4 separate regions of the Homo sapiens genome follow, and regions 1, 3 and 4 are each linked to region 2. Evidence: promoter capture Hi-C in 16 types of primary human blood cells and fetal thymus (Javierre and others, 2016). All regions are on one chromosome and are shown on one strand. Each heading gives the region's core, a stretch centred on a gene start or on the middle of the fragment in contact. The rest is flanking DNA. Distances are from core to core; before and after follow the strand shown. Region 1 overlaps B4GALT1 (beta-1,4-galactosyltransferase 1). Region 2 holds the start of PLAA (phospholipase A2 activating protein). Region 3 has its middle 5.1 kb from the start of PLIN2. Region 4 overlaps DENND4C (DENN domain containing 4C).

Region 1 (7,728 bases), core at 2,873-5,372, 6.2 Mb after region 2:
CCTCTTTACCCAAGTATATATTTTATTTATTTATTTATTTATTTTATTTTTTTGAGACAGAGTCTCACTCTGTTGCCCAGGCTGGAGTGCAGTGGCATGATCTCGGCTCACTGCAACCTCTGCCTCCTGGGTTCAAGAGATTCTCCTGCCTCAGCCTCCCGAGTAGCTGGGATTACAGCCGCCCACCACTATGTCCAGCTAATTTTTGTATTTTTAGTAGAGACGGGGTTTCGCCATGTTGGCCAGGCTGGTCTTGAACTCCTGACTTCAAGTGATCCGCCTGCCTTGGCCTCCCAAAGTGCTGGGATTACAGGCATGAGCCACTGCGCCTAGGCCCAAATATATATTTTAACCTACCTATATGGCACCCAGACCACAGCTGTCTGTCTTCTACTCAGGCAGATTTGTGGGATGCTATCAGATGCCCTGCTGAATAAGATATGACAGCATTGTATCCACAGTACATCCCTCATCTACTGGCATAGCAACTGTCAAGAGAGAAACGAGATGCAGCTGGCACGGCTTATTAGTCATCCCTGCTGGCTCCTGGTGATGGTGGCCGCCTCTTCCAGGTGCTCGCTGCCACTGCTTTAATAACAGGCTCCTGAATCTTGCCGTCATTGGTATGTGCTAACTGGCATCAGACAAATGTTTCTCAATCACAGAGCTTTTCTTAAATGAATATGTGTTGGGTTAAAGTGACCCGCATTTTGCAGGACATTTACCTGTTCTCTCTTGCATTCTCCAATATTCTTCCAAGGTGACCCACAACTGCGTGGCTGTCTTGCTTGCAGGTGTTCATAGGGCCCTGGTCTGTACCTCACTTGGCCGAAGAATTCAAACAGCCTCAAGGGGTTTGCCCACCACCTGCTCTCCTGCTTCAGTTTCCTTGTAACAGGGCTTGTTCTGCTCTCTCCTGCCTCACAGGCTTAACTCTGACACCTGGTCCCAGAGCTTCTGGTGCTTTCCTACCCCAGTGGGCATCTCAATTTCCAGGAACATGCAAGGCTCCTTTCTGCCTTAAGGTCCCTGCTCACTGGCCCCAGCTGAGAAGCCCATCTCCCTGCAGACTTTAGAACCTAGTTTATATCCTGGTTCTTCCAAGCCATTGCTCTCTCTCCTTCCTCTGAGCTTCCAAAGCATTTGGCAGCCACCATCCAATCACAGGATATTTGGGTCTGTTAACAAATTGTTCCCTGGGAAGGTCCCACTTGCCAGAAGTGGGTTGGAGGCTTCGGGACAGGGCAGGACTGAGACCTTACACTTCTTCAGAATCTCCCTGCAGCAAGTGATGCAGCACAATGCCACAGCAGTCCTCGAGTGCTTCCCCTGGGGTCATAGGGAAGGTGCACAGAGTTCCTTGACCTTGATGGAAGCCGTAAACTGCCAACAATCCTCCTACCTAAAGCAGAGTTTATCTCGAAATGAAATGGACATTGGGCCTTGTAGAAATGGGCGTACTCAGACTCTTCAAATGAATTTCAATGAAACTGGGTGCTTAGATAAGTTAGATGTGTCATTGCACCTAGGAGGTTATAGTCTAAAAACATGAATTTAAGTGTTAGGGGTAATCTTGAAATATCAAAGTTATACTCTTGGGAAAATAATGCTCCTCAAATAAACTGAAAAATTTATTTCAATAAAGATGCCTCTTAGATCAATCTGATTCTCCATGCCATGGTGATGAAAGTTGACCTATCCTTAGCATTACTTTCCTAAGCAGGGCTAAAGCCCAACACATATGGATCAGACGAGCAGTGAGAAACTTTTTCTCAGACTCGGCCCAGTCCACATAACTCTCAGATGGCCCACGAATCAGACTTCTCCAGATATTTCACCAGGGGCTGGCATGTAGGCATGTGACCTGAACTAAGGGCACTGTCTCCAGGTGCCCCAGGAGACACGCTCTGACTGACTGGATAAACTTTGAAGTTACCTAAAAGTCTGACATCTAAATGGTGGTTTTATTTTTAAAAGGAAAATACACAGCTACACAAAGCCAGGGAATAATCAGTGTGTACTTTGGAATAATTAGGGTTGTCTTTTTTCCCAATCTTGCTGGAAGGCTACTTCCAGAAAACAAAAACAGAACAACGAAAACACTCCAGCATTTCCCTTGGCTATAGAGTTGACAGCAATAGGCAAGCACACTGTTTGGCGTTTACCTCATCTGCACTGGTGGTGGCTGGGGGGCTGGTTCCTCGCTGTAAGTGCCAGGTGTCTGTGAAATCACTCCCCTTCCCCTGCCCTCATTACACACACATCTGATACACATCTGCATGCACACACACCCTCTCTCATTCCACCTTCCCAGGCCTCACCTGGTTGATAACATAGATGCCATAGTCCAGCTGCTGGCGCTGCAGGACTGGGTGCAAATAATATAGCCAGTACTTGAGGTGCTCCTGCCGGTTGCGGAATGGAATGATGATGGCCACCTTGTGAGGAGAGACGCAGTCCCTGGGGGCATAGCGGCCGCCCATCTTCACATTTGGGTTCTGCTTTGCCACGAGCTCCAGGTCCACAGGCATGTTAAACTCAATCAGCATGGGGCCCACTAGAGAGGTGGAGGGAGGGAGAAGTTAGCAGGCCACAGGACTCGCCACCGCTCCACAGGCTGCATCAGATGGCCAGGCTGCAGCTGCAGCTGCAGAGGAAATGTCTCCTCCTGGGAGGCAACGTGGCCACGGAGAGGGCCCTCCTGCCCAGCATCAGGCACCACATCCAGCATTAGGGTGACCAACCATCCCCAGAAACCCCCTTCAGTGTGGGGCAAACCTAGATGGTTGGTCACTCTGTGAAGCACTCGCCTGCCCAGGACCCTCCCCGCTCTGACTCCACTGTAAAATGGAAGTAATTTCTACCCAGACTTCCTGACAGGCTGTTGTAGAAATCAGTGATCACGGATGAGAAGGCAATTTCTCAAAACCCCTGAGGTTGAGACTTAGCTCTGTGACCTCCCAGCTGCGTGGCCTTGGACAAATGGCTGACATCATCTCTCTGATTCTAGCCTAACTGGGGAAGTGTGTGTGTGTGTGTGTGTATGTGTGTGTGTGTGTGTGTGTGTGTATGCATGCATGTTGGGGACGTCAGTGTGGAGGGAGTTAGCTTCGAAGTGGAAGGTAGCAGGAGTGGCATGAGTGCCCATGTCCCAGGAAGGGACTCGATGGAAGGTGAACCAAGGTCTGGGAGAGATGGAGGCAAAGAAACCCCAAAGGAGACCGAGGGAAAATAAAAGAAATAGCTGGAAACACAGAAGAATGTTTAGTAACAGAGGGGATAAAGTAACAAAGAGGAAGAAGAAGTAACAAAGAGGGAGGGATGACTCCCAAGTTTCTGGCCTAGAAGAACATGGATGCAGATGAGATAAGTAAGTTAGTAAGAGAGTGCTTGCCTCAGAAGAAAAATGGATGAGGTGCAGATTGTGGATTGTGAGGTAACGGCAGGTGGGAAGAGGGATGAGGAAAACGTCACATACCGGGTATGTGGTACACGTGGTGCAGTCCAGGCAACACAGGGAATCAAGGCTCTGCTGAGAGTCAAGAGCCAAGGCTTGAACCCAGGCTCCCCATACTCTCTGCAGACCAGACCGCCTCAAAATGGGTTCCAGAAAACATCAGACCCAGCAAGATGCTTAATGGAAAAACATGTCTCGTGGTCAAATAAGAACGGGAATGCTGCGTATTAAATCCTGCTTCTGCAAAGTCACGACACACACCAAAGGCTCTGAGAAGTTGTGCAGTCGAAAAACCCCCTTCGTTATATTTAACCCACCATTTCCCAAGCTTATTTGGCTACAGAACCATTTTTCCAGGGAACACACTTTGGGAACTGTTACTCTAGTGTAACCAGCTTCACCTGTGAAGCAAATGAGCCACAAGAACAAAGGAAGGAACCTAGAGAACAGGTAGGAACACCAACCACAAGCACAGATCAAAACCTGAAACATGCTGGTGAGAACCCGCCCAGGGCCAGTGAGCAGGCTTCAGCCTGCCCTGTTTATCAATAACGCGTGGCTCTCCAAGCACCCCCTACTCCCGGAATCACTCGCCCTTCTGAATTCAACAGCTTGAGAAAAAAAGCTGTGGGCCTGCTTCCTCTCACCAGATAGCTGCCACTTCCACCCCCTTCCCCAGTACACATCTCACATCTTCCCTCCCTCCGTAGCTGACCCAGGTCCACCATCACAGGACCTGTTCCCATTAGTTTGTTTTCTTCTGAGATACAGCCCCGACCATATTACTTTCCCACTAAAACCTCCAGTGGCTCTAAGGCTGTGTGTCCCTGCACAAGGGAAGGCCAAGGCCCACAGCTGAGCAAAAGGCCCTTCACCCTCAGCTCTGTCTGTCTCCCTCCCCATCCCTTAAGCCATGCCTGTCCACACTTTTCTCTTTGCCAGAAATGCCCTTCCCACTCTCCTCTTAACTAGCAAACTTTCGCATTGAGAGATAGGCCTCAATCAAGCTTGATCCTTTTACTCTCTGCGCTATCACAGAGCTCAGGCAGCAGACCCTCTGGGGCAGGGAAGAAGATCCTCAGGCCTCCCTCTCTGGTCATGCACCTCCCTCCTGGAGGGACAGAGGCCTTGAAGCTCAGTCCCTTATAAGACTGCCTGCTGAGCCAGCTCCCACCTCCCAGGGTGCCCTAAAGTGAGCAGGCACTGTGCTCTTCAGAGAAGACCAGGACTCAGTCAGTGGTCACCCTGGACAAGTTTTTCCCAAACCTATCACAAGAATTGCTTGAGGAAGTTAGTACAAGTACAGCATCTCGGGCCCTTCCCTTAGAGAGTCTGTGGATTTTGGGAAGGACCTAAATGGCTACCTAACAAGGAGCCCAGATGATTCTCACTGGGCAAGCTGGGTAGTAGGGCTCCGATGGACCATCTGATGGGCATCTGATGTCAAGGCTTAGGGCTTTCGGGCAAAGAGGGCCCTCGGGGATTCCCACCATTCACACCCTTCCCCACAAGGTCAGCCAGGCCTGGGCTGCCCAACACCCAACCCTGGGCAAAGGCTACTGGGGGGGCCCTGCTGCACAGTGAACTTGTGAAAAACATGAAGAAAAGATCTGTCACAGGGCTCTTTTCACTTCAGAGGGCCCCCACAACATCTGCAGCCCCCACCCCACCTTTGGTTCTGAGGATGCTGCTAAACATAACCGCGTTTTGGGGAACCCAAGAAGCACCTGGGCTGTCACCCTGCCGACTTGCTCGTACCTTCTGAAACCCACCCAGAAAACAGGAATTCACATGTGGCCTGGCTCGCTTCCGCGGGACAGACACCTGCAGGCTGGAAAGTGTCCTGGTGTTGCCCCATCATGGGTTTCAGAAAGGTGGTCCTGAAGTCAAGAGCCCCGGACAGGAGAAGAGATGCCTGGGCCCCGGTCCAGCTCCACCAGTGACTTTCCAGATGATCTTTGGTATCCTGAGAGTGGATAGTACAGCCACTCTCAGGGTACTGGTTTCCTCATTTGTAAACTGCAGGGACAGGACTGGATGCTCTCTAAGGTCTCAGAACGCCCTGACGTGTCCAGTGACACTTGGTAAACCAGGAGGAGTGCAGGGATCCAAAGCAAGATCTTTAGACAAATCCTTGCTCCCACCTTCCCTGCCCTCAGCATGAATTTCCAAGCAGACAGGAGACGTGAGTGTCCAGCATAGGAGAGGTGGAAAGAAGCCTTGATCACCAAGCGTCACATTTACCTACGTCTCCTCTTACCTCAAATTCCTAGGCTTTCTCAGCTTCTTTCTTGGATGTCCATCTTTGCCCCCTTCTCTTCTCACTCTCCCTATACCCAGGTCTTTGGTTTAAGCACATGACAGTTCCCAAACCTCTGTTTCCATCTCATGTCTCTCTCCTGACCTCACAGCCAACAGAACATGGCTAGCCATATGTCATGGGCACCTCAAATTCAACCTGCCCCAAATGGATTCTCATGCAACCCCACCACCATCACCACCTACAGCCAGACCTGCTTCTCAGGATTCCCTCAGCAACTGACACCACCATCTCCCCAGGGCAGAAGCTGATACCCGGGTGGTCCATCTTCTATTCCCCCTCCTCTCTCCCCAACCCCAACACACACACTAACGCTCTCTCACCCTCACATACACACACACACACGCCCACTCGCTCCCATGCCGGGGCTGTCCACAGCATGCTGACAACCCACAGAAGCCGATCGAGCACCAAGCCAGAGAGTCTTTACTCTGAAATGTCTGTTAACTGCAAACTTGCCCTGTGATATGTATCAAGACCACTTTCAATTTGTTTCAATTGATACTTTCTGGGTACCTACTGTGTGCCAGCCCAAGGAGGAGTGGGTTGAGGTAGGGAGGGAGGATGGACAAGACAAATCCTGCCTTCCAGGAGTTCCCTGCTGAGCGTGTGGCAGAACCTAAATGAAAATTACCCTGGTTTAAGGATGGTCAAGGAGCTTGCTCCTCCAATGGCTCTGTGCAGAGCTTTATCACTGAACAGCCTCTTCTCACTCTCCTGCTCCCTTCTGAACTCGCTGTGCCCCTTGCACAACCCCCATCATGCTTCCAACACACTGAGACACCTTGACCCCCAATCCTGCCCTTCTTGCCAATCTGGCAATTTTTTCTCCACAACTCTAAGGATCTTGCAGCTCACACCTTTGAGACAACAGACAGCAGCCCCAGACCTGGCGTTGAATGACTAATTGGGTCGAGTGCCAGCCAGGAGGCCTCCTGAATGCCCTGCACACCTCCTGCCATACTGCAGGGACCATGCTCTGCTACACACCTGGCTCTGTCCCAGTGAGAAACTCCAGAGAGCTCAGACTCCAGGAAGGCAACGACTACCTCTGTTCAGAATCATGCAGACCTGCGACCAGGTTTCAGAGCCACTGCCTGGGGTGGTGGGGAGAAGCTCTGGGAGGAGGCAGAGGGCTGAGGGCTTCATGACAGGCCTCAAGCCGAGCCAAGGCGCCCTTGCTGTGCGGCGCATGGCGTGTGCTACCACAGGCTCTCGGCCCCGCTGGGCTGGCTTGTGTGTTTTCTTGGCTCTGGAAGCTGGGAGGCAGGGTTACGTAAGCAGATGAGCAGATGTAAGCTGTCCTCGGCTCCCCCAGCTCAAGCCCCGCCACGTGGGCCTCTCGGCTGGGAGTCCAGGTCATGGCCTTGCATGTAAGTCGCTCAATAACTTCAATGTGTGAGCTCAATTCAGACAAATTCCACTGCTCCCCTGCCTGGCACAGCAAACCCAAACACATACATGCCCCTCCATCAAAGGCCCTGCTAATCTAAGCCAACACCAGCACGGACTCCTGACTGGTTTTCATGCTGGCTGAAGCACTAGTTCAATCCTTTAGCCTCAGCAAAATAGGCTGAAACATCTAGTCACTGTTTGTCAACTGATTGGCCAGTGGGTCGAAAGAAGCGTTGGCCTGATGCTTTATTGTGACAATGTTTCACTAGCCCAGGAATGAAATCACAGAAGTAAAGACCATGTAGGTGTTTTTTAATTAAACTAAAGGTAATCAAAGTATAGGAATGCCCTTTCTTCCAAGATTAAGTGCTTCTTACTCTTTGAATATTAAAATGTCCTTTCTCTTATGAAATCATCATAGATTTTCATGCTGGACTGATTTTTAAAATTTAATTTAAAAAAAAAATCCTTCCTTGGCAGCCATGGGTCAGGCCTCTAAGTTTGTTTTGAAAATTCTCTGGACAGGAAATCCAAGTATTCAGGAAACATTTGGGAA
Region 2 (6,895 bases), core at 2,144-4,643:
AGGCTGAGGTGGGAGGATTGTTTGAGCCCAGAAGGTCGAGGCTGCAATAAGGCAGTGATCATGCCATTGCATTCCAGCCTGGGCAACAAAGCAAGACCCTGTGTCAAAAAAACAAAATCACACAAATATTCTATTATGGCCTGAACGTGTCCCCCAAAGTTCATGTGCTGGAAACTTAACCTTCAATGCAACCATGTTGAGAAGTAGAACCTTTAAGAGGTGATTAGATCAAGAGGGTTCTGCCGCCATGAATAGATTAATGTCATTATTGCGGGACTGGGTTAGAGAGTGGCTTTGTTACAAAAGCAAGTTTGGCCCCTCTGCGCCTCTTGCTGTGTGCTCTCCTACCCTTCCACCATAGGATGATACAGCAGCAAAGAGGCCCTCTCAAGATGCCGATACCTTGATAATGGACTTCCCAGCATCCAGAACTATGAAAAATACATTTCTTTTCTTTACAAATTACCCAGTCTGTGGTATTCTGCTACAGCAACACAAAAGAGAAGACATGTATCATGAAATAAAAATTGTCAATATGTCAGATTTGAGGACACTTTTACAACATTAAAGGTATGGTTGAGACACTTCAGTTGGCATCAATAAGAGCTTAATCACCTAATGACTATGAAACACTCTAACCCTGGGGTATCCAATCTTTTGACTTTCCTGGGCCACATTGGAAGAAAAATTGTCTTTGGCCACGCATAAAATACACTAATAATTACAATAGCTGATGAGCATTTTTAAAAAAATCACAAAAAAAGCCTCATAATGTTTTAAGAAAGTTTATGAAATTTGTGTTGGGCCACTCTTACAGCCACCCATGGGCCACAGGATGGACAAGCTTGCTAACCTAACCAGCAGGATATGAGAGACTAAATAATCTTATCTCACTACGCACTAACACACACTGTGGCAAAATGCAAGTTCTTCATCAGTGTTAGATAAATACATACAGGAATGAATTTTGAAAAACAAAAACAAAAAAATCATGAGTTCGGCCAGGCGTGGTGGCTCACGCCTGTAATCCCAACACTGGGAGGCCAAGGTGGGCAGATCACCTGAGGTCAGGAGTTCAAGACCAGCCTGACCAACATGGAGAAACCCCATCTCTACTAAAAATACAAAATTAGCCGGGCATGGTGGCACATGCCTGTAATCACAGCTTCTTGGGAGGCTGAGGCAAGAGAATCGCTTGAACCCCGGAGGCGGAGGTTGCAGTGAGCCAAGATTGTGCCATTGCACTCCAGCCTGGGCAACAAGAGCAAAACTCTGTCTCAAAAAAAAAAAATCAATAGTTCAATGAACAACAAAATCACTTTTCAAATAGAGAATCAGTTCAGCCCAAAGTTCTTCAAGTTCCTGGTAAGCACAACCACTCCAGTGATTAAACCCTTGTCAAACTAGTACAGTCCCAAAAGTTTAATGACAGGATTCCATTATTAAAACAGGCATCCTTGATTATACTCCTTACTGCAATGGTTATATTCTACTGGGCTTATGCTTCTACTGGATTCAATTTTAAAGGCAAAAACTTAATAACTGTACTCAAACAAAAAGTTCCATATTAGTATTACTAAGTAGTTTTGGATATTATAGAATTTTAGAGTTAGATCTTTAGAGATCATCTCATTCAATTCAATACAGGAATTTGCTCTATACTATCCCTAGCCTAGTGGACCATCTTGTGTTGATTATACTACTTCAAAAGCCTCCAAGCAAACCCACTTCTACACTTATCCCTTCTCAATCTATTCTCTACCATCAGCTAGCAGAAACTTCTCAACACGGAAATCAGATCATGTTGCTCCCTGCTTGAAACTATTTGAAGGCTTCCATCTGCAAACTCCATAACCTGGCTCTTGCCAGCCTCAAAACCTGCCCTCACCTCACAGCTAATTCCCTCCTGTTTGCTCCTCCAGCTGCCTGGAATGCTCTTCCAATTCAATCCTCCCTATTTGCTCTTCCACGACCAGCTCCATCCATCTCATGCTTCAAATGTCAACTTTAAACAAACAACTCCTCAGAGAGGCTTCCTTTAATATATCTCTCCACCTAATTAACTGTATGTTTTCTTCACATGCCAGTTTTTAATTATTTATTGGCTTGTTTTTTAATCTATCTTCCCCATCAGACTGTAAGAAAGCTCCAGAAACACTGGCAACTTGTCTGTCTTTATTCCTCTCCAGTATCCCAAACAAAGAGGAGGCACTCAACAGTTATCAACTGAATTTATGGATGGTGACTCAAATTCTAAAATCTCTAGCAGTGGGAGACCTACTAAATAACAAAATAACTAACCTCAATTTTTCTTTCTCTGAACTGCAATCTGTCTTCTAGGTCTTAAATATCCTGTTACAACCAGCCAAATCAGGGCTGAACCCGTGAACTCGATCAGGACTGATTCCTAACCTTTTTCTTCTTTTTTTTTTTGGTTCGTGAACCCTTCTGATAAATCCTTTGAAGGCAATGGATGCTGCTTCTCCTCAAGAAACAGCACATGCACAGAAACAAAACATCCGAGAGGTTTCACTCCCTCAGGACCAGCACAGACCACAGACTAAAATTCTAACCTGGACGAAAAGAGGATTCACCAGTGCAATTTTTGAGAACTAAAGTCTTCAAAAATTAAATTTTACAGAAGACTACAGAGCATCTTCTTCGAAAAAAAAAAAAAAAGAGGACATTTCAGATGCCTTCAAACTACCTCACTTCGGAGGGTGCAACTGCAATCAGTAAATTTTCAAGTCTAAAAGAAACTTGGGAGATCATCGTCCAAAAACTGAAGGCCCAAAAGGTAGGAGACTCGTCTGTGGTCAAGTTAGCACAACAAGGCAGGTCTTTGGTCCCCCAACCCTGTGCTCTTTCCACTTAAATCCCGATGGTTTCTTACAGAGTTCTAATAGTCTGAGAATTGGAAGGGAGCGGAGAGCAGAGGGAAGGCTGGGGGGAGAGAGAGACGGCAGGACTGACAGGGAAGGGTCACTCTCCTTCCACTCTCCGGGAAGCGTGCAACACAGCCGGGGCAACCCGACTCCCAGCGCTCACCTGTCTGGGGCCCAGAGGCGGGTGGTGCGGTCTCGGGACACGGACACAAAGGCTCCCGGCGGATAGGCGCAGCACACCAGGCCCCGTACGTCCAGCTCGTGGCCCCGGAGCGAGCAGCTCAGCCGGTACCTGGTTGCGCCGCTCGTCATGGCCAGTGTCTGTCTGGCGCCCGGTGCCCAGGCACTGTGCGAGACCAGTCCGCAGGGGCGACTCGGAGAGCGCCGGGCCGCGGCGGGAGAAGAGCCTGCAGGTAAGGGGCGGCCGGAGACCGGAAGAGCCCGAGAGCCGGTACGGAAGGGCGGCTGGGAAGGGGCGCGCCGAGCGGGCCGAGTGACACAGCAAGCCTGACAGGCACTCCGGAATTCATCATCGGCCTCAGCCCTCCATGACGCAGAGTGTGTGCGTCCCAACCGCCGACGCCGATGCGGAGCTGAGCTGGCTTTCCTCCAGGGCTCTGGACTCCCTGCTGAGCAAGAGAGAAAGAGGCCCGCCCTTCCACCAGGACGCCTGACCCTGGGGTCCTTCCCAAACCCGGGTCTCTTCCGACTCCGGGCCCAACAGTTTGTGGTAAATCGGGAAGCGGGCCGGGACTACAATTCCCATAATGCCGCGCCAGCTGGCGTGGACATCCGGCGCGCCGAATCCGGATATTTTAAACCTGAGTCTTTCGCGCTGGGCATGGCGGAATGGCTGAGTGAGGTTGTTTGGTGTCTACTGTTAGGTCATCCTCACTGCTTTTCCCTGAGAATCTCGAGGTTTTTGCAAGTTAACCTTGTTTTTCAATTAAAACGAGAAAGCTTGAGGCCAAATTGGGAACTATTAATCATTGAACTATTCCTCCGTTTCAAGTTATCTGAATCTCCTACTCTCTGTTGTCAAATTTAGCAAATACGGTGGTCCAAGTCAATTTTTTAAAGGTATAACTACTTTTCTCTGGCGGCTTGTTAAAATGTAGATTCTGATTCAGTAGGTCTGAGTTAGAGCTGAGATACGTATTTTTAACAACCCCGCCGCCCACCCACCCGTGGTGCTACTTGCTAGTCATTATCAGACCTTATTGAGTGCCAGGGTAAACATGACCTGTCTCCTTACTTTGTTTTCTTCCCATCCGCTATTCTCTCGCATCCAACTACACTTTTCCACAAACCTTTCTAAATTGCTAAGCCCAATTCACACTTTTCTGACTTCTCCCTTCCTAAAACTCCTACTCTAGGTTTGGAATCACTTTTCCCCTGGTTTGGGAGATCATTCTTGAAATGCTGACTTTTGATACTTCTTTGCTATCATATCCCCTCCCTGGGTGGATTATTTACTACTTGGCTTATTTCTAGAGCTGTATTCCCATATTGTCTTCTCCAAACTCTAGATCTGTATTTCTAGCTATCTGTTAGAAATCTGTACCAATTAGTCCTACTTAAATTATTTCAACATTTCTCTGGCCTTTCTACCCCTTCTCTCCAGCCAATCCTACACATTAAAATATAATTATCTTTCTGAAATATACACTTAATTGTTTTTTCTCTGTTTGACAACCTGTGATGGCTTTCCATTATTTTTTTTTTTTTTTTTTTTTTTTTTTTTTTTTTTTTTTTGAGACGGAGTGTCGCTCTGCTGCCAGGCTGAGTGCAGTGGCGCGATCTCGGCTCACTGCAACCCTCGCCTCCCGGGTTCAAGCGATTCCTGCCTCAGCCTCCCGAGTAGCTGGGACTACAGGAGCGCGCCACCATGCCCAGCTAAATTTTGTGTTTTTAGTAGAAACGAGTTTCACCATGTTGGCCAGGATAGTCTCAATCTCTTGACCTCATAATCTGCCCTCCTCTGCCTTCCAAAGTGCTGGATTATAAGCGTGAGCCACCACGCCTGGCCGGCTTTCCATTCTTATAGTACAGCATTACATAGGGCCTTTCACACAATCTCCCTAATCTGTTTTACTAGATTCATCTCCCTCTGTTATCTCTCTTACTCTAGACATTTCGAATTTGTCACAATTCCCTGAACACATTATGCTGTATGCTCTCCATGTCTCTATGCTCTTTGTACATGCATTTTTTTTTTAAACTTAGAATTCCACTTTCTCCATCTGTCATAGTTCAACACCAGTTTATCTTCTGTTTTTTTCTAGTTCCTCTGGGGAACCAATGCAGTTTTGTCTGTTGTCAATATAGTATTTACTGCATTCTAATATGTTCTTTTATGTCTGTCTTTTCTACCGGACTACATTTTATTATTATCAAGACCTTTATTTTACATGAATCTTAACCATCTAATTTACTGCCTCCTATATAATAGGAAATGTTTTTCAACTTGGTATAGTATTCAGTTTACCAATTTTCACAGTCTCTCATTTAGTTCTCACAATAACCCTGCAAGGTAGATAGTATTATTCCCATTTCACACATGAAGAATTTGCCTTGTTTAAAAAATGTTAATTTGGAGGCCATTAGGTTGAGATAGTTCCAGCTCTGGAGCCCAACTCAATGTAAACAGTAAAATGAAACTTAAGCTTAACTAACAGAAACAGACAAACCTCTAACTAAGGACTTTCCACTTTAACCAATCAAGTAAGTATATTTTCTTAGTCTTGCTTCCACCAACCCCTTATAAAAGTTTTCCCCTCGTGCTGTAATTGCCCCTGTGTTCTTTTACACAGGGAAATGTGTAATTTCACATTTCCCTGTGTAATTGCCTGCTGCCTTCCAAAAAACCAATGCACTGAGAACTACAAATGTTGCAGCAGGGAAAGATGAATAATCACAGGGCCAGCCAACGAGGAGGATGGGAGATATTTCTCAAATCCACCTCCAAGAATGTAGAGACTAGGTTTTTAAAGGATCGGTTGGTGGGCAGGAGGCTAGGAAATGGGAAATGCTAATTGGTTGGGTCAGGGATGAATCACAGGTGTGTCAGAACTATCTTCGTGAACCTGAGTCATTTCTGAGGAGTGGGGTTCACAGGTCCAGGTTGTGTCTGTTGGTCTGCCAAAATGCTAAATTTGAAAAATATCTCAAAGACCAGTTAATTAGGTTTCACAATAGTGATGTTATCTGTAGGAGTACTTGGCGAAGTTACAAATCTTGTGACCTCTGGTTACGTGACTCCAGGGCAGGAGGCTCTATAGAAAAGCAAGCTAATTAGGCTGGGTGAGGTGGCTCACGCCTGTAATCCCAGCACTTTGGGAGGCCAAGGCAGGTGGATCACAAGGTCAGGAGATCGAGACCATCCTGGCTAACATGGTGAAACCTTGTCTCTACTAAAAATACAAAAAGTTAGCCGGGTGTGGTGGCACGCGCCTGTAGTCCCAGCTACTCAGGAGGCTGAGGCAGGAGAATCACTTGAACCCGGGAGGGGGAGGTTGCAGTGAGCTGAGATTGCGCCACTGCACTCCAGCCTGGCAACAGAGCGAGACTCTGTCTCAAAAAAAAAAAAAGAAAGAAAGAAAAGCAAGCTAATCAAACAATGCCAAGTTATTGTTTGAGCATGTCTATTCTTTAGCAAAGTTCAAGCCTCTACCATAATTCTAATCTTGTCTTATGAATGTAGCTTCAATCTCCATACAAGGAGTTGGGGTGGGGGGTCACTTTTCCTTGCCTCAAAGTTTAACTATAAACCAAATTCCTGGCATAGTTATTTTAGCCTCCACACTAGAATAAGCAAAAAACAAACTAACAATAAAACGACAACAACAAAAAACTAGTTTAGCCTGTGAGGTTTTGAGCAAAATGGAGTCAGTCATGTTAGATTTCTCTCATTAGTTATAATTCTGCAAAGGTAGTTTAAGTGCCCCTAGATGGAGTTTCACCACTTGTGGTTTGGTGCTGCCCAATTCATGAATCACTGTCTGCTCAAC
Region 3 (6,924 bases), core at 1-2,500, 7.8 Mb before region 2:
TCTCGCTCTGTCGCCAGGCTGGAGTGCAGTGGCGCGATCTTGGCTCACTGCAACCCCAGCCTCCCGGGTTCAAGTGATTCTCTTGCCTCAGCCTCCCGAGTAGCTGGGACTACAAGCGCGGGCCACCACGCCCAGCTAATTTTTGTATTTTTAGTAGAGACGGGGTTTCACCATGTTGGCCAGGATGGTCTCGATCGCTTGACCTCGTGATCCGCCCGCCTTGGCCTCCCAAAGTGCTGGGATTACAGGCGTGAGCCACCGCACTCGGTCTAACCCAGTTTCTTAACCAATCTTGCATGCACACAGATACTGTTGATCATATTTAAAGCTCCAAACGGACCCATTAAAATGGTATCCCTTATCCCATTATACCTGAATATATAATAGTACTTACTTAGCAAGAAAAATTAAAGTATTTTTACCCCTCCTCCCCACATGTAATTCAAAATAAAATACTAAGCCATAAATACTGAACCATAAAATGTTATGAAGTCCAAAAATGTTCTGGTTTGGGTTTTTTCCTATGTTGCCATCTTCAGTGTTTTAAGTAATTAAATTATTATGTTTTTCTTTTCTTTTTCGTGTTCCGGCGCTGTTTGTTCCCTAAGCAAATGTTTGCTCTGCTTATTGATAATCCATCCCTGCTCTAATGACCTCTTACTTTGCATCAGAAGACTCTCGCCCTTTCACCTACAAAATGCCTCCATCTTTTCCTTTTTTGTTTTAAACCTGTGAGTCATTTCCTCACTTAAGGCTGAGCAAGCTTCTTTTTGCTTTTATTTGCCTGTGAAGCAGAGGGCCCCAGGGAATAATTTTGGGAACAAGAGACTCTTCAAGCCCACAAAGGATGAAGCACATCAAATTCTGCATCCCCAACTGTTTTTCAGCTTCGTGAGTCTGAGAACATGAAACCAGTGGCAAGAATAACACCCAAGGTGAGATGTGTAGTGAAGGAAACCAAAAAATTTTACCCCAAAATATACTTCTTTCACATATTTTGAGATATGGCTGTTCAGAGGACCTGCAGGCGGAAGTAGTCCTACGAAGCTGTTTGGTGTGTGTGTGTGTGTGTGTGTGTGTGTGTGTGTGTGTGTGTGTGTGTGTGAGAGAGGCTTGCAATATACAGAGAAAATCTGCATTGATGCAGCCAGGTGCTCTCTGAGGTTTTCCCTCGTCCAGATATAGGAAAGGTTAATGGACAGTCTGACACCTTTAAAGGTCTGAAAGAAACATCAACCATCTATTCTTTCCAATGGCTACTACCTGTGAGGTTTCATCTACATGAGCGGTCCCCAACCTTTTTGGCACCAGGGATAGGTTTCATGGAAGACAATTTTTCCATGGACCAGGGCAGGGGGATGGTTTTCAGGATGAAACTGTTCCACCTTAAATCATCGGCATTAGATTCTCATAAGGAGCCGCAACCTAGATCCCTTGCATGTGCAGTTCACAGCGGCGTTCTTGCTCCTAAGAGAACCTAATACCAGCTGCTGACCTGACAAGAGGCAGAGCTCAGGCGGTATTGCTCACTCACCCGCCACTCACCTCTTGCTGTGCGGCCCTATTCCTAACAGGAATGTAAATGGCCACAGTGTAAATGGCCCAAAGTTTGGGGACCCCAATCTACATAATGAAATGACTTTTGCTAGCCAAGTTTCCATTTCTGTCTTGCCACTAAATCCTGATTTACCACCATTCTCTGAGCCCCCAAACTTTCTGTAACCTCAGGAGGGGTATATAAGCTTCTGAGCCCACTGAGAGGTGGAGTAATTACTCTGTGGTTCCCCCACATGCCCAATAATACATTTACGTCTTTTTATAATAATACATGTATATCTTTTGACCTGTTAATTTGCTTTCCGCCAGTTGATTTTTCAGTGAACCTCCAGAGGACAAAGGAGACGTTTTTCCTTGGCCCCTGCAGTAGGTTGCCATTAGATAGGGTGTGTACAGTGTGGCAGTCCTGGGGAGTGGCAGGACATTACCAAGGATTTGGCCAACCTGAGATTCCTGGAGGTTTTCAGGGTTTTGTTTGGTTCCCTCCAGGATTCGATTTACCGTCATTCAGCATCTGGCTCCTGTCTCTTTCTCACCAGCTTCTTCTCCGGACTTTACCTGTGTGAAAGGAAAATAAATCTTGGGACCCCAAAATCACTGAACCAAAGGGAAAAGTCAAGCTGGGGACTGTGTCACACAAACCTCCTATTCAAAGATAAGCTACATAAGCCAGGCGCAGTGGTTCATGCCTGTAATCTCAGCCCTTTGGGAGGCTGAGGCAGGCGATCACTTGAACCCAGGAGTTTGAGACCAGCCTGGGCAACATGGTGAAATCCCGTCTCTACAGAAAATACAAAAGTTAGCCGGGTGTGGTGGCATGCGCCTGTAGTCCTACTTGCTGGGCTGAGGTGGAAGGATCATTTGAGCCTGGGTGGTCAAGGCTGCAGTTGGGGACCGCTATAATGGAGACACTGCACTCCAGCCTGGATAACAGAGTGAGACTCTGTCTCAAAAGAAAACAAAACAAAAAAGCTACATACCTCCCTCATAATTTGCCCACTAGGAAATTCCTTGTGGGCCCCAAGATCTTTACCCTAAAAAGTTCTGTTGAATTTCATCCTCACAATGTAAATTGATAGCTTATATTCACAGATGTGGGACATAGGACAGAACACAATAGCATCCCTCTGCTCACCTGAGACAAATTAATATTTGATTGCTCCCTCTGGCCTATGTTTATTTTATCTTATTTAAAAATGCAGATTCACTGAGCTAGATGAATGCGTGACTATTCCTCTACCCCCCCATCTCACATGTCAATGGCTAATCAAAGACTCAAAGGAATGCAACCATTTGCCTCTTACTGGCCCACACCCCTTAACAATTTCTCCTCTCCCCAGTATCCACTCCTTTCCCCTTTAGATATTGAAACCCTCAAAATCATCTTTGGAGAAAGGCACAGACCTGTCTCCCATGTGTGTGTCCTTACCCTTGGCAAAATAAACTTCTAAATTGATTGAGTCCTGTCTCAGATACTTTGTGTTGCACCTATCTTAAACTTTAAGCTCTAGTCACACAGATTTACTTACAGTCCTTTGAACACATCCTATTATAGGATTCCTGTATGTCATTGCTCATGCTGTCTCCACCTTGTTCACTGGGAATTTATCCTTCAAATTCCCACCTGAGGGTGGTGGACAGATGCCACCACCCCCAGGAAGACCTCCCGACTACCTTAGATGGAATCTATCACTCAGACATCTTTGCACCTCTGTACTTTGTACATTTATGCTTGCCTTTTTTTTTTTTTTTTTTTTTTTTTTTTGAGACGGAGTCTTCACTCTGGAGTGCAGTGGCACGATCTGGGCTCACTGCAAGCTCCGCCTCCCGGGTTCACGCCATTCTCCTGCCTCAGCGTCCCGAGTAGCTGGGACTACAGGTGCCCACCACCATGCCCGGCTAATTTTTTTGTATTTTTTAGTAGAGACGGGGTTTCACCGTGTTAGCCAGGATGGTTTCAACCTCCTGACCTCGTGATCCGCCTGCCTCAGCCTCCCAAAGTGCTGGAATTACAGGTGTGACCCACCGCACCCGGCCTATGCTTGCCTTTATCACACAATATTATTTATGTGTTCATACATTCTTTTTCCTTGAGGTCAAAAAACTTTTTTTCTTTTTGTAACCTCTAGTTAACATATAATAATGCCCGCACTGAGCAGGTGTTCACTAAGGTGTTGAATAAATAGTTGAAACTGTTTCAGCTTGTGAGTGCCCAATAATTTTTTTATAAATATTTCCTATTTTTTATTTGTTCTTTTCTTTCTTTCTTTCTTTTTTATTTATTTTGTGTTAGAGATGTGGTCTCACTATGTTGCCCAGGCTGGTCTTGAACTCCTGGCCTCAAGCAATCCTGCCTCAGCCTCCCAAAGGGCTGGGATTATAGGCATGAGCCACGGTGCCTGGCCCCAACTTATTATTTCTTAGAAGTCACTCTTAATAAAATTATCGTGGATTATCAGGTTAACCAGTACTCATAACTGACCTATATAAATGCTTTGCAGCAGTGGTTCTCAAAGTGGGGGTCCTGGGTCAATAGCATTAGCATCACGTGGGAACTTAGAAATGCAAATTCTCAGGCCTCACCCCAAACCTAGTAAATCAGAAATTCTGTGTGTGGGCCCTGCAATCTGTGTTTTGATAATTCCTTCAAGTGATTCTTATAATTTCTAAAGTTTGAAAGCTACTGTTTTACAAATGTGTTTTCTCATGGTGGTCTGGAAACTATCAGAATCACCGAAGATGTTTGTCAAACGTTATGCCTCCTCCCCCAGACCTACTGAGTCAAGATCTATGAGGGGTGGGGCCCAGAAGCCTGCATTTGTGACGATAGGTGCCACCACTTTACTCTTCACAAAGCACTTTCCCATGTCGCTCATATTTGAGCCTCACAACAGCCTGGAAACTTGATGGAGTGGGGTTATTACTCCCATCTTAACAGTAAAGAAACAGTCTCAGATAAGTTATATGATCTGGCTATAGTTTTATGACTAAGCAGCAAGCTAGGCAAAATTAGATCCCAGGGGCATGACCTGGGCTAGTTACCTAATTTCTTTTTGTCTTAGTTTCCTCATATGTAAAGTGGAGATAATAATAGCTCTTCATGTTTTACGTAAAGGTTTTATAAGGCTGAGTGCGGTTGCTCACAACTATATCCCAGCTCTTTAGGAAGCTGAAGCAGGAGGGTTGCTTGAGCCCAGGAGTTCAAGACCAACCCAGGCAACATAGGGAGACCCCATTTCTACAAAAAAAATACAAAAGTTAGCCAGGAATGTTGGCGTGTGCCTATAGTCCCAGCTACTAAGGAGGCTTACGCAGGAGGATCACTTGATCCCAGGAGGTAGAGGCTGCAATGAGCCATGATGGCGCCACTGCACTCCAGCATGGGCAGCAGAATAAGAAGGCCTCAAAAACAAAACAAAACAAAAAACAGTTATATGAGTGTTCATTGTACTGGTCTTTCAGCTTTTCTGTGGGTTTAGAAAACTGTTTCAAAATGAAAAGTTTAGGTTGTTATACAGTGATAAGAGAGAATGAAGAGACCCATAACTAACCACATATATGCAATGTAATGTAAATGAAATGAAAGCAGTTACCTACAGGTTCATACCATACAAAAACAAAGTAAGCTCTGCTGTAAAAAGTAAGGATGGTAGTTGTTCTGCAGGGAGTTGGGGGTGGGAAGACTAGTGACTGCTAGGGGCCTTTTGGTGCTGGTAACTTTTTATGTCTTATTCTGGAAGCTAGTTACATACATGTGTATGCTCTTTTGTGAAAATTCATCAAGCTGTACACTTATGACATATATGTTTTTGTATGGATCTTACACTTCCAATAAAAAGTTGTGAGCTGAGAATGGTGGCCGATGCCTATAATCCCCGCATTTTGGGAGGCCGAGGCAGGAGGATTGCTTGAGACTAGGAGTTCAAGACCAGCCTGCATAACACAACGAGACCCTATCTTTATTAAAAAAAAAAATTTTTTGGGGGGGGACAGTTTTGCTCTGTTGCCCAGGCTGGAGTGCAATGGCGCAATCTCGACTCACTGCAACCTCTGCCTCCCGGGTTCAAGCAATTCTCCTGCCTCAGCCTCCCGAGTAGCTGGGATTACAGTCATGTGCCATCATGCCTGGCTAATTTTTTTTTTTTTGAGATGGAGTCGCACTCTGTTGCCCAGGCTGGAGTGCAGTGGCATGATCTCAGCTCACTGCAACCTCCACCTCCTGGGTTCAAGCGATTCTCCTGCCTCAGCCTCCCGAGTAGCTGGGATTACAGGTGCCCACCACCACGCCCGGCTAATTTTTGCATTTTGAGTAGAGACGGCGTTTCACCATGTTGGCCAGGCTGGTCTCGAACTCCTGACCTCAGGTGATCCACCTGCCTCGGCCTCCCAAAGTGTTGGATTACAGGCGTGAGTCACTGTGCCTGGCTAAAACAATTTTTTTTTTTTTAAGATTGGGTCTCACTCTGTCGCCCAGGCTGGAGTGCAGTGGGGTGATCTCTGCTCACTGCAACCTCTGCCTCCTGGGTTCAAGTGATTCTTCTGCCTCAGCCTCCCGAGTAGCTGGGACTATATGTGCGCACCACCATGCCCAGCTAATTTTTGTACTTTTAGTAGAGACAGGGTTTCACCATATTGGCCAGGCTGGTAAAAAAATTTTTTTAATGAAAAAAAAAAAGTTGGCTGGGTCCGGTGACTCACGCCTGTAATCCCAGCACTTTGGGAGGCCAAGGCAGGCGGATCACCTGAGGTCAGGAGTTCGAGACCAGCCTGACCAACGTGGAGAAACCCCGTCTCTAATAAAAATACAAAATTAGCCAGGCGTGATGGCGCATGCCTATTGTCCCAGCTACTGGGGAGTCTGAGGCAGGAGAATCGCTTGAACCCGGGAGGCAGAGGTTGTGGTGAGCCGAGATCGCACCATTGCACTCCACCCTGCGCAACAGGTGCAAGACTCCATCTCAAAAAAAAAAAAAAAAAGAAAAAAAAAGAAAAAAGTTTTGAAAAGTTGAGGAGTAGAAAAATAACGGTGATTACTTCATAAGACTTGTGGGGATTAAATGAATCAATTCACTCAACAGAATAATGCCAGGCACATAGAAATGGTAGCTATTATTCATGGTTTTTTGTTTGTTTGTTTGTTTGTTTGTTTGAACACACCCCGAGAACTGTTGCCTAAGAAAGCCTTCCTGGGCATTGAGCTGAAGAGAGCTCAGCTCACAGGATTATTGGAAGGGACTTCAAGGGACCAGTAATATCCCAGGCCCTTTCCAGTCTGCCTTCCTAGACTAAGAAGTATAGGAGACTCTGCTGGAAAAGCCACCTTTTCTAGAGTTTGTATTATAGCAACTCAGGCTTCTTTGGGTATGT
Region 4 (7,715 bases), core at 2,339-4,838, 7.6 Mb before region 2:
GAATCAGCCTTACGTCTTTTTTTTCTCTGTACATCAGTGCATTTCTTAAGTTTTCCTGTCATCTTTAACAACTGAGTCATGAAGCTCACTTTTAGTGTTTCATTTGTAACATTTTAATGCTCACAAACCAAATAAAGGTGAACTGTCCTTTGCTATTGGGTTAAATAGTAAAGAGACCACACCACCTTTTACATTGTTTGTGTCAAGGGTTTTAGACCCCTAACTTACTTAGAAATTAATCTGTTACTTTGTCAAGTGACAAAAGATGAGAGAAGACTCTGCTTTTGTAAATTTTATTTAGAAATTAGAGTTAAAACAGTTATGTATTGTTGAAATGTAATAAAGTTAAGCCATTTTTGTTACTAGTGTGAAGCTTTATGCCCATTAACTATGTTTTAACTTTAATTTGGAATAGAAACCTGCAGGAAGTTACAAAAATAGTACAGAATTCAATGTAGCCTTCACACAGCTTCCTCCAAATGTGACACCTCATATAACTAACTGTAATGTAATATTAAAACCAGGACATTGACATAGTTATATTACTATTAACTAGATGACAGAACTTAATGTCTTCACCATTAAAAAAAATGCATCTGTGTTTTTATGCTATTTGCCCATTGACTTTTAAAACATATTTGTTTTATAGGAGTTTATACAGAGAAATCCTCTTCTTATCATTAGTGTCTCTAGGAAGAGAGAATATTGATATTGGTAAGTTGGTTAATAAAAGATTATGAAAGGAAGTTTTACATTTTATTTTCAAAAGTAATTTTTAAAAATGTAGCTGGTATGTATAAAAGATTTAAAAGATTTCTACTTCTAAATATATAGTTCAAATACATATAATTTGACTCAATACCAATTTGAAATGAACGGCTGTTGTCTTTCTTAACAAATTACAACTTCATTTTTGAAAATTTCTTTCAGAGGCATTTGACAATGAATATGGAATTGCATACAATAGTCTGTCTTCAGAGATTCTTGAAAGGTTGCAGAAAATTGATGCTCCACCAAGTGCCAGTGTCGAGTGGTGCAGGAAGTGTTTTGGAGCGCCTCTCATTTAAATAGAGATTCACTAGAATGTTGACACACAAGGCTTGGGGATTAGATTTCATCTGGAAACATTCAAGTTTTTTTTTCCAAATCGTAAGAACTGGTGAATACGGAATTGAAGTAACTCTTGGGGACAATATATAATGAATTATGATTCATATTGCATTACCTTGAAATATGAAGTGCCATTTGAATGTCCCAGGGCTTATTAATATTGAAGATTTTCAACCCCTGAACTGCTTTTCTGCCTCTGTGGAAAACTACTTTGGGATTCTTCAGTATTTGTAGTAGTTTGATAGAAATAATGAGGAACCATATTCATTCTAGGCATTGTTTATATTTGAAGTTACTGAGTTTGAGGAATGGCAAATTAAATTTGCCTAACCCCCAAAACAAATGAAATATCTCAATTATAAAAGCAACATGGCCGGGCACGGTGGCTCAGGCCTGTAATCCCAGCACTTTGGGAGGCTGAGCAAGGTGGGTGGATCACTTGAGGCCAGGAGTTCGAGACCAGCCTGGCCAACACGGTGAGACCCTGTCTTTACTAAAAATACAAAAATTAGCCAGGCGCACCACTGTAGTCCCAGCTACTCAGGCTGAGGCAGGAGAATCGCTTGAACTGAGGCAGAGGCTACAGTGAGTGGAGATCACGCCACTGCAACTCCAGCTTGGGTGACAGAGTGAGACCGTCTCAAAAAAAAAAAAAAAAAAAAAAGAGAGCAACATATTTGTGTAAGTTTGTATATGTGTAGGGCTGTGTAGGTATGTGTATATACAGCCATATTCTAAGTGTATATTTATTAAAATAGATTGCATGTTGCAATACGGTTTTCTGAAAGGGGTCTCATTGACTATTAAATAAATGACTACTACTAAACTTGTCTGTAGTCATTAATCTTAAAATTACCTGAAAATCTGATGACAGCTGCCTTCCCTAACTTTAATGTATTAGGTTGGCACAAAATTAATTGTAGTTTTTGCCACTATTAATGGCAAAAACCGCAATTATTTTTGTACCAACATAATACACCTTTCATATTATGTATTATCTTGCTTAATGGGTTTTATCTTGATTATCCAGTTACTTCCATCCTCTTCCCAATGTTAATTTGCAATAGTTTTAAAATGGGAACAAATGAATCAATCATCAGATAGTTAAAATGAAATTAAATCAGCTGCCTAATAATTTATGGAATTCATTGGAATGTGCTTAAAATGCTAAAGTGTATGTCATTGAACATGAAATCTTTTTTCAGGCACATACATTGTTGGTATTGATGACTTTTTAAAACCTGTGGGATAAACTTGCACTGCACACGGAAGTTTTATTCTTGTATATTTAGATTTGTATGCTTGTGAGTAAAAATGTGCATTTGTAAATACTGTGTTTTTAGGTTGAATCAATTAAGTCTTAAAACTGTAAATTTATTAAGCTTGTTGCCAGTAGGTTTAAGAAAATCATGATCTCACATGCCTCACTTTGACATTTATCATGCCTTTTATTAAAAATATCCCTTAGGAACAGTAAGTTTGCCTTAACTCTCTGCATGGTTTAAAAAGCCATTGGTTTTGTGTGTGTTTACAGTAATTATGCAGATGACTAAATGAGTTGACACAGTAAAATTACTTCCATATGGTACAGTAACAACCTAACTCCCTTCTACCTGATGTAACCATTTACAAATTATAGTTATTGTACCAGTCTTTCAACATTTCAGGGTTAATCTGACCTATGCAGAATTCTAGTGTGAATTTATTGTGAAAATGCTAAATGAAACAATTTGTCAGAAATTATGTACAATTTTCATTACCTTCAAAATGGATCTTTTGCACTGTCTGAGAGTATATATTTTTGCAACTCAAGACTTGGTACTAGTTTTAATACTTAACACTTACTGACCCAACAGAAGTTTGGAATTACCTTGCATATAAAAATTGAGGTTGAATAAAATGAAAAATTGTTGTTTTCTGTTACATTAAGCCTCTTGAAATCTGTAATCTTTAGAATCCCAATATTTTGTTTTTTCCATTCCTTCACTCGTAACTTGAACTCAAGTTTTCACTTACTGACGCGCTTCCCATTAAAAAAAATCTGTAAAGATCTCTACCTTGAAAACTTTAGTCTGCTGCTGCCATTTAGATATTGGGACTGATTTCTTGTTATAAATTTTTAAAGGCTTTTTCCAATACCCACCACAGAGAGGGTACCACTAAAAATTTACAAGACAAAAACATTATTATGGAAAGATTTAGAAGTACCTGGAATGACTTGTAGCACTGTATGCAACTTTAATCCTGATAACTTCTAAAAGCAATCTTTCAAATTAGTCCAGATTACTCAGCAGTACCTTATATTGGTTTGGGGTTCGATAGCGATTTTTTTTTCTTCCAACGAACGAATTGTACAGGTTGATCACAACCTGCATAGTTAACGACATGTCAGAATGACTTGCGTGTGTGTGGAGAACTGGGTATGGTGGCTCACGCCTGTAGTAATCTCAACACTTTGGGATGCCAAGGCAGGCGGATCACTTGAGCCCAGGAGTTCAAGAGTAGCCTGGGTAACATAGCAAAACTCTACAAAAAGCACAAAAACTAGCCGCAGTGCACACCTGTAGTTCCCAGGCGGTCAAGGCTGCAGTGAGCCATACCACTGCTCGCCATCCGGGGCGTAGGAGTGAAACCCTGTGTCAAAGAAAAAAAAAAATCTAAGGAAAAACAGACTGTCCTTATTTTGTGGCTGCACTCAATTTTCAGAAAGCAGGGCGGTTCTCATGTTTTGTGCATCATAAACAAGAACTGGTTAATATAAAACTTTGGACCATAACACTGGACTCACCTTGTGGCTTTTAAGTTCCTCTCTCTGCTTGTGCTAAATTTTTTTTTTTTTTTTTTTTTGAGATGGGAGTCTTGCTCTGTCGCCCAGGCTGGAGTACAACAGTGTAATCTTGGCTCACTGAAACCTCAACCTCCCTGGTTCAAGCGATTCTCCTGCCTCAGCCTCCCGAGTAGCTGGGACTACAGGCATGCGCTAATTTTCGTATTTTTAGTAGGAACGGGGTTTCACCATGTTGGCCAGGCTGGTCTTGAACTCCTGACCTCAGGTGATCCACCTGCCTTGGCCTCCCCACCTGGCCATCCCCTTTGCCTTTTAAGTTCTGCATATTATTATTGATTGCCAACTAAGATTCTTTTCATGTTATGTAGCTTTTTAACACCATGTAGTAAGAGGAATAGTTAAGAATCTTAGTAGGCATCGAGGGACTGGCACTACCGGCCTAACACCTGGGAGCTTTTTAGTAATGTAAAAATGTGGGTCCCCACTCCTCTATCAATCACTATCTGCGCCTTAACCAGACCCCTAGGTGATTCACATGTACATTTAACATTTAGAACTCTGCTTTGTAAAGCTATTATTACAGTAATGCCAACAAAGAGCTTGCATTACTTCAACCTTAAAGCCTAATGTGCCACCTTCTAAAGATCCTGATATTGTCACAATAGGCTAGTCAGCATAGAACTGTTAGAAAAAAGTACATACTTTGTGCATTTTTCACTGATCCAAGAATGTTTTTAGTCATTTCCTTTTCAGTGTGTGAACAGCCTAACAATTCACTGGAGTTGAAAAGCTTTGTTAAAACAAATTTGAAATGGCTTAAAAACCATTTAGTGGATGGTATCCACTAAAACTAGGTATCCACTAAAACTATGCCTTAAAAGTTACCTTTTAAAAAAGACATGTTCATCTTCACAAGGTCAATTTTCATGTATTAAATTGTGTATAGTGCTTTAAAGAGCTATATTCCTCAAAAATAAACTATATAAAAAAGATTAATAGTCCTCATCATTTCCCCTAAGTTCCATGCCATTCTGAAGAGGCAGGTGTCTTATGCTCAGAATCCCTTCCTGTGCCACCCATCCCCTGAAAGGAACCCCTGTACACTGACCTTGTCTTCCACTACCACACACAATAGGTCTGACTTTATCCACCATTGGAATACCATATATACATATCCCCATTTTCTATGACCTAACTTTCCCTCTCTTCATTTATGTAGTTTTCTATCAGCAATGAAAAGTCAACAGAGATCAGAGTCTGATCTTATTTATTTGTTACTCAAAAAATCTTATTTCTGACTGGATTCAGACTTAGAAGTAGAAGCTCGCAGAGAGGAAAGTCTGCGTCTCTTCGCAATTTGTTCCTGGCGCTTCTCCTTAGCCTCCTAAACAAAACAAAACAGCAAACAGTTAAGGCCTTTCTGGGTTAAAGACGCAAATCCAAAGCCAGGTCGAACTCCTCCCACCCCCTCAAATCATCTTAGACTAACCTTCATTCTCTTGGCCAAAAGTTTAGCATATTCTGCAGCCTCTTCTTTATTTTTCTTGGTACGCTGCTTCTTCAGAGCAATACGCCGCCGTTTGTGCTGCAGGACACGTGGAGTAACAAGACGCTGAATCTTGGGTGCTTTGGTCCTAGGTTTCTTACCTAAAAATTCAAAGGACTCAATCATTTCAATATTTGTTTTGTTAGAATCCACATCTACTTTAAAAACATCAGAAATAAACGTAAGCTTAACAGCATCTATGAAAACCTATAATGAGGCCTTTAAAATCAAATCAGAACTATTCTAAAATGCTTTTTGCCCCTCCACAGAAATCTAGAAGATTGGTTAAATATTATAAAAATATAAGGGAAACCAAGTCCTGAAAAATAACCAGGCTAACTTTTACTACCTTCCAGTTTTACTAAAATACAGTGGCATTATGTTAATATATAACTGTGCATAGTTAATTTGTCTGTGAAAACCACTTAACACATTATCTACATAATCATCCTGCCATACTTTTAAATTTGATGTAAGCTTGCATCTCTATTTCCTTTGACAATTCCTGCCAATTCAGGGGTAACGTTAACTATTAACATCAGATTAGGTGGCATGTTGTTAAAGTATCTTCATTAATCTGATCTGTACTCCAAAACTGCTCATGGATTACAGATCTGCATTGGAGCATAGGCCTTTTCAGATGTATTTGTTTCATGGACACTTTGTAGGAGTTAACTGCCTTAGGCTAAATGCTCAGATGTTCAGATTCTGCTAAAATGTTAAGCCTCCTACTATAGACATAAGAACCATCTAAAAATACCCATCAACCAGACCACGCTTGTATTATACGGATTATTTCCAGGGCTATGATTATGGGCAACTGCCACCTATTTGTCAATTGCTTTTTTTTTTTTTTTTGCAACATCAGCTTCATAAGGGTAGGAATTTGTCTATACTGTATTCTCAGCACCTTGAACAGTACCTGTGCTCAAGTAAGTGTAATTACTGACTTAACAGACGTATACTATCTATGCCATGTATGTTAAGTCACACCAGTCCTGAAAACCAAAATCCAGAGAAATTCTTTCAAATTTTGTCAGGAAAACCCAACCTTGACTGACATGCTGTTTATTTAACATAAATATCCCCAAATTTCACCACAGAAATATTGCTATTTGAGGTCCTCACTGGTGAGTATGTTGTCTACTATATGGACAAAAGTTCTTAAAAGGTAAAGCTCCAAAATCCCTAACACCTGCTCCCTAGTATTCTGAGTAAGGTCTCTAACTTCTAATTCTCACAACTCTTAACTATTGTTATCCATATCCTACAGATGAAACAGAAGTTTAAAGCAACTTCTTTTGTAAGCCAAAAAATAATTTTGGGCTGGGTGTGGTGGCTCACGCCCATAATCCCAGCACTTTGGGAAGCCAAAGTGGGAGCATCACTTGAGCTCAAGGGTTCAAGACCAGCCTGGGCAACAGTGTGACCTCATCTCTTAAAAAATATTAATAATTTAGAACATCTGATATAAAATTACAAAGTGTGTGGTGCTAATAGTCCCAGAATTCTCAAACATGTGACTCCTAAACCAGATAGCAATGACCTTAAAGTCAGGTTATTTTTGGATAATGTATACATCAAAGATTCACAAGCAGATTTTCAACGAAATTACTGCACTCTACAAGGCACTGGATATAATAAGCAAGGATTAACACCAACTGGGTATGCTGGCCACCCCCAAATATTTTCTGTAAAAACTCCAAGTGAATAGTGCTAAGGCCTTCCAAAGGCACATATTTATCTTCTGATATGCACACAAAATGATAGACAAATTACCAAAATTAAGCAAGCCCTAATTGCATAATCCCTCCTACCTTCTTTATTTAAGGGCTTTCTTACAACATACTGGCGGACATCATCTTCTTTAGAGAGATTGAAAAGTTTGCGGATTCTGCTAGCTCTTTTGGGGCCCAGGCGGCGAGGCACTGTAGTATCAGTCAGTCCAGGAATATCCTTCTCTCCTTAGAAGAAACAGTTGAAGAGATTTTAATTCAACAACTTCCTTAAGAATCCTAAATCAGAATGTTTAATGTTGAATTGATGGTAGAGAAACAAATCCATTGGTCTGTAAGTCTGGATACTGCAAATGAATAAGCATTTGGACAACTGGCTTTAAATCAATTTCAACGAAAATTGAACACAAGTAACCCTCACCTTTTTTTACAATAACCAAGTTGAGAACGCTCAGATTTGCATCCACAATGCAACCACGAACTGATTTTCTCTTTCTTTCTCCAGTTCTCCTTGGTCTGTAACAGGAATGCCCCT

The links. Contacts are between HindIII fragments. The CHiCAGO score rates a contact against its expected background, and 5 or more counts as called.
Region 1: a fragment that was not itself captured here is called in contact with the fragment with the promoter of PLAA in region 2 in 1 of 17 cell types (naive CD8 T cells); the score reaches 6.2 in naive CD8 T cells.
Region 3: a contact is called between a fragment that was not itself captured here and the fragment with the promoter of PLAA in region 2, in 2 of 17 cell types (total CD4 T cells and activated CD4 T cells). The highest score is 5.7, in total CD4 T cells.
Region 4: a fragment that was not itself captured here is called in contact with the fragment with the promoter of PLAA in region 2 in 1 of 17 cell types (total CD8 T cells); the score reaches 7.3 in total CD8 T cells.

The regions. Positions count from the first base shown.
Region 1 is chr9:33,132,868-33,140,595 of GRCh38, forward strand. It overlaps B4GALT1 (beta-1,4-galactosyltransferase 1), which reads right to left. Exons shown (of 6, transcript NM_001497.4): 2 at 2,322-2,557. Among named protein-coding and RNA genes, the nearest start is that of MIR12117, 28 kb to the left of the region's middle. RefSeq lists an enhancer at 6,886-7,265. The HindIII fragment of the contact is 679 bases long and covers 3,784-4,462 here.
Region 2 is chr9:26,943,849-26,950,743 of GRCh38, forward strand. It overlaps PLAA (phospholipase A2 activating protein), which reads right to left and starts at 3,394. Exons shown (of 14, transcript NM_001031689.3): 1 at 3,049-3,394. The coding sequence starts at 3,197. It also overlaps a transcript of IFT74 not described here. RefSeq lists enhancers at 2,469-3,144, 2,888-3,147, 3,145-3,818, 3,408-3,717. The HindIII fragment of the contact is 3,001 bases long and covers 843-3,843 here.
Region 3 is chr9:19,129,157-19,136,080 of GRCh38, forward strand. No RefSeq gene overlaps it. Among named protein-coding and RNA genes, the nearest start is that of PLIN2, 5.1 kb to the left of the region's middle. The HindIII fragment of the contact is 979 bases long and covers 762-1,740 here.
Region 4 is chr9:19,371,107-19,378,821 of GRCh38, forward strand. DENND4C (DENN domain containing 4C) reads left to right here. Exons shown (of 33, transcript NM_001330640.2): 32 at 650-714; 33 at 931-3,175. The coding sequence ends at 1,067. It overlaps RPS6 (ribosomal protein S6), which reads right to left. Exons shown (of 6, transcript NM_001010.3): 3 at 7,602-7,715; 4 at 7,262-7,408; 5 at 5,388-5,545; 6 at 4,609-5,282. The coding sequence ends at 5,187. Among named protein-coding and RNA genes, the nearest start is that of RPS6, 5.3 kb to the right of the region's middle. The HindIII fragment of the contact is 2,196 bases long and covers 2,491-4,686 here.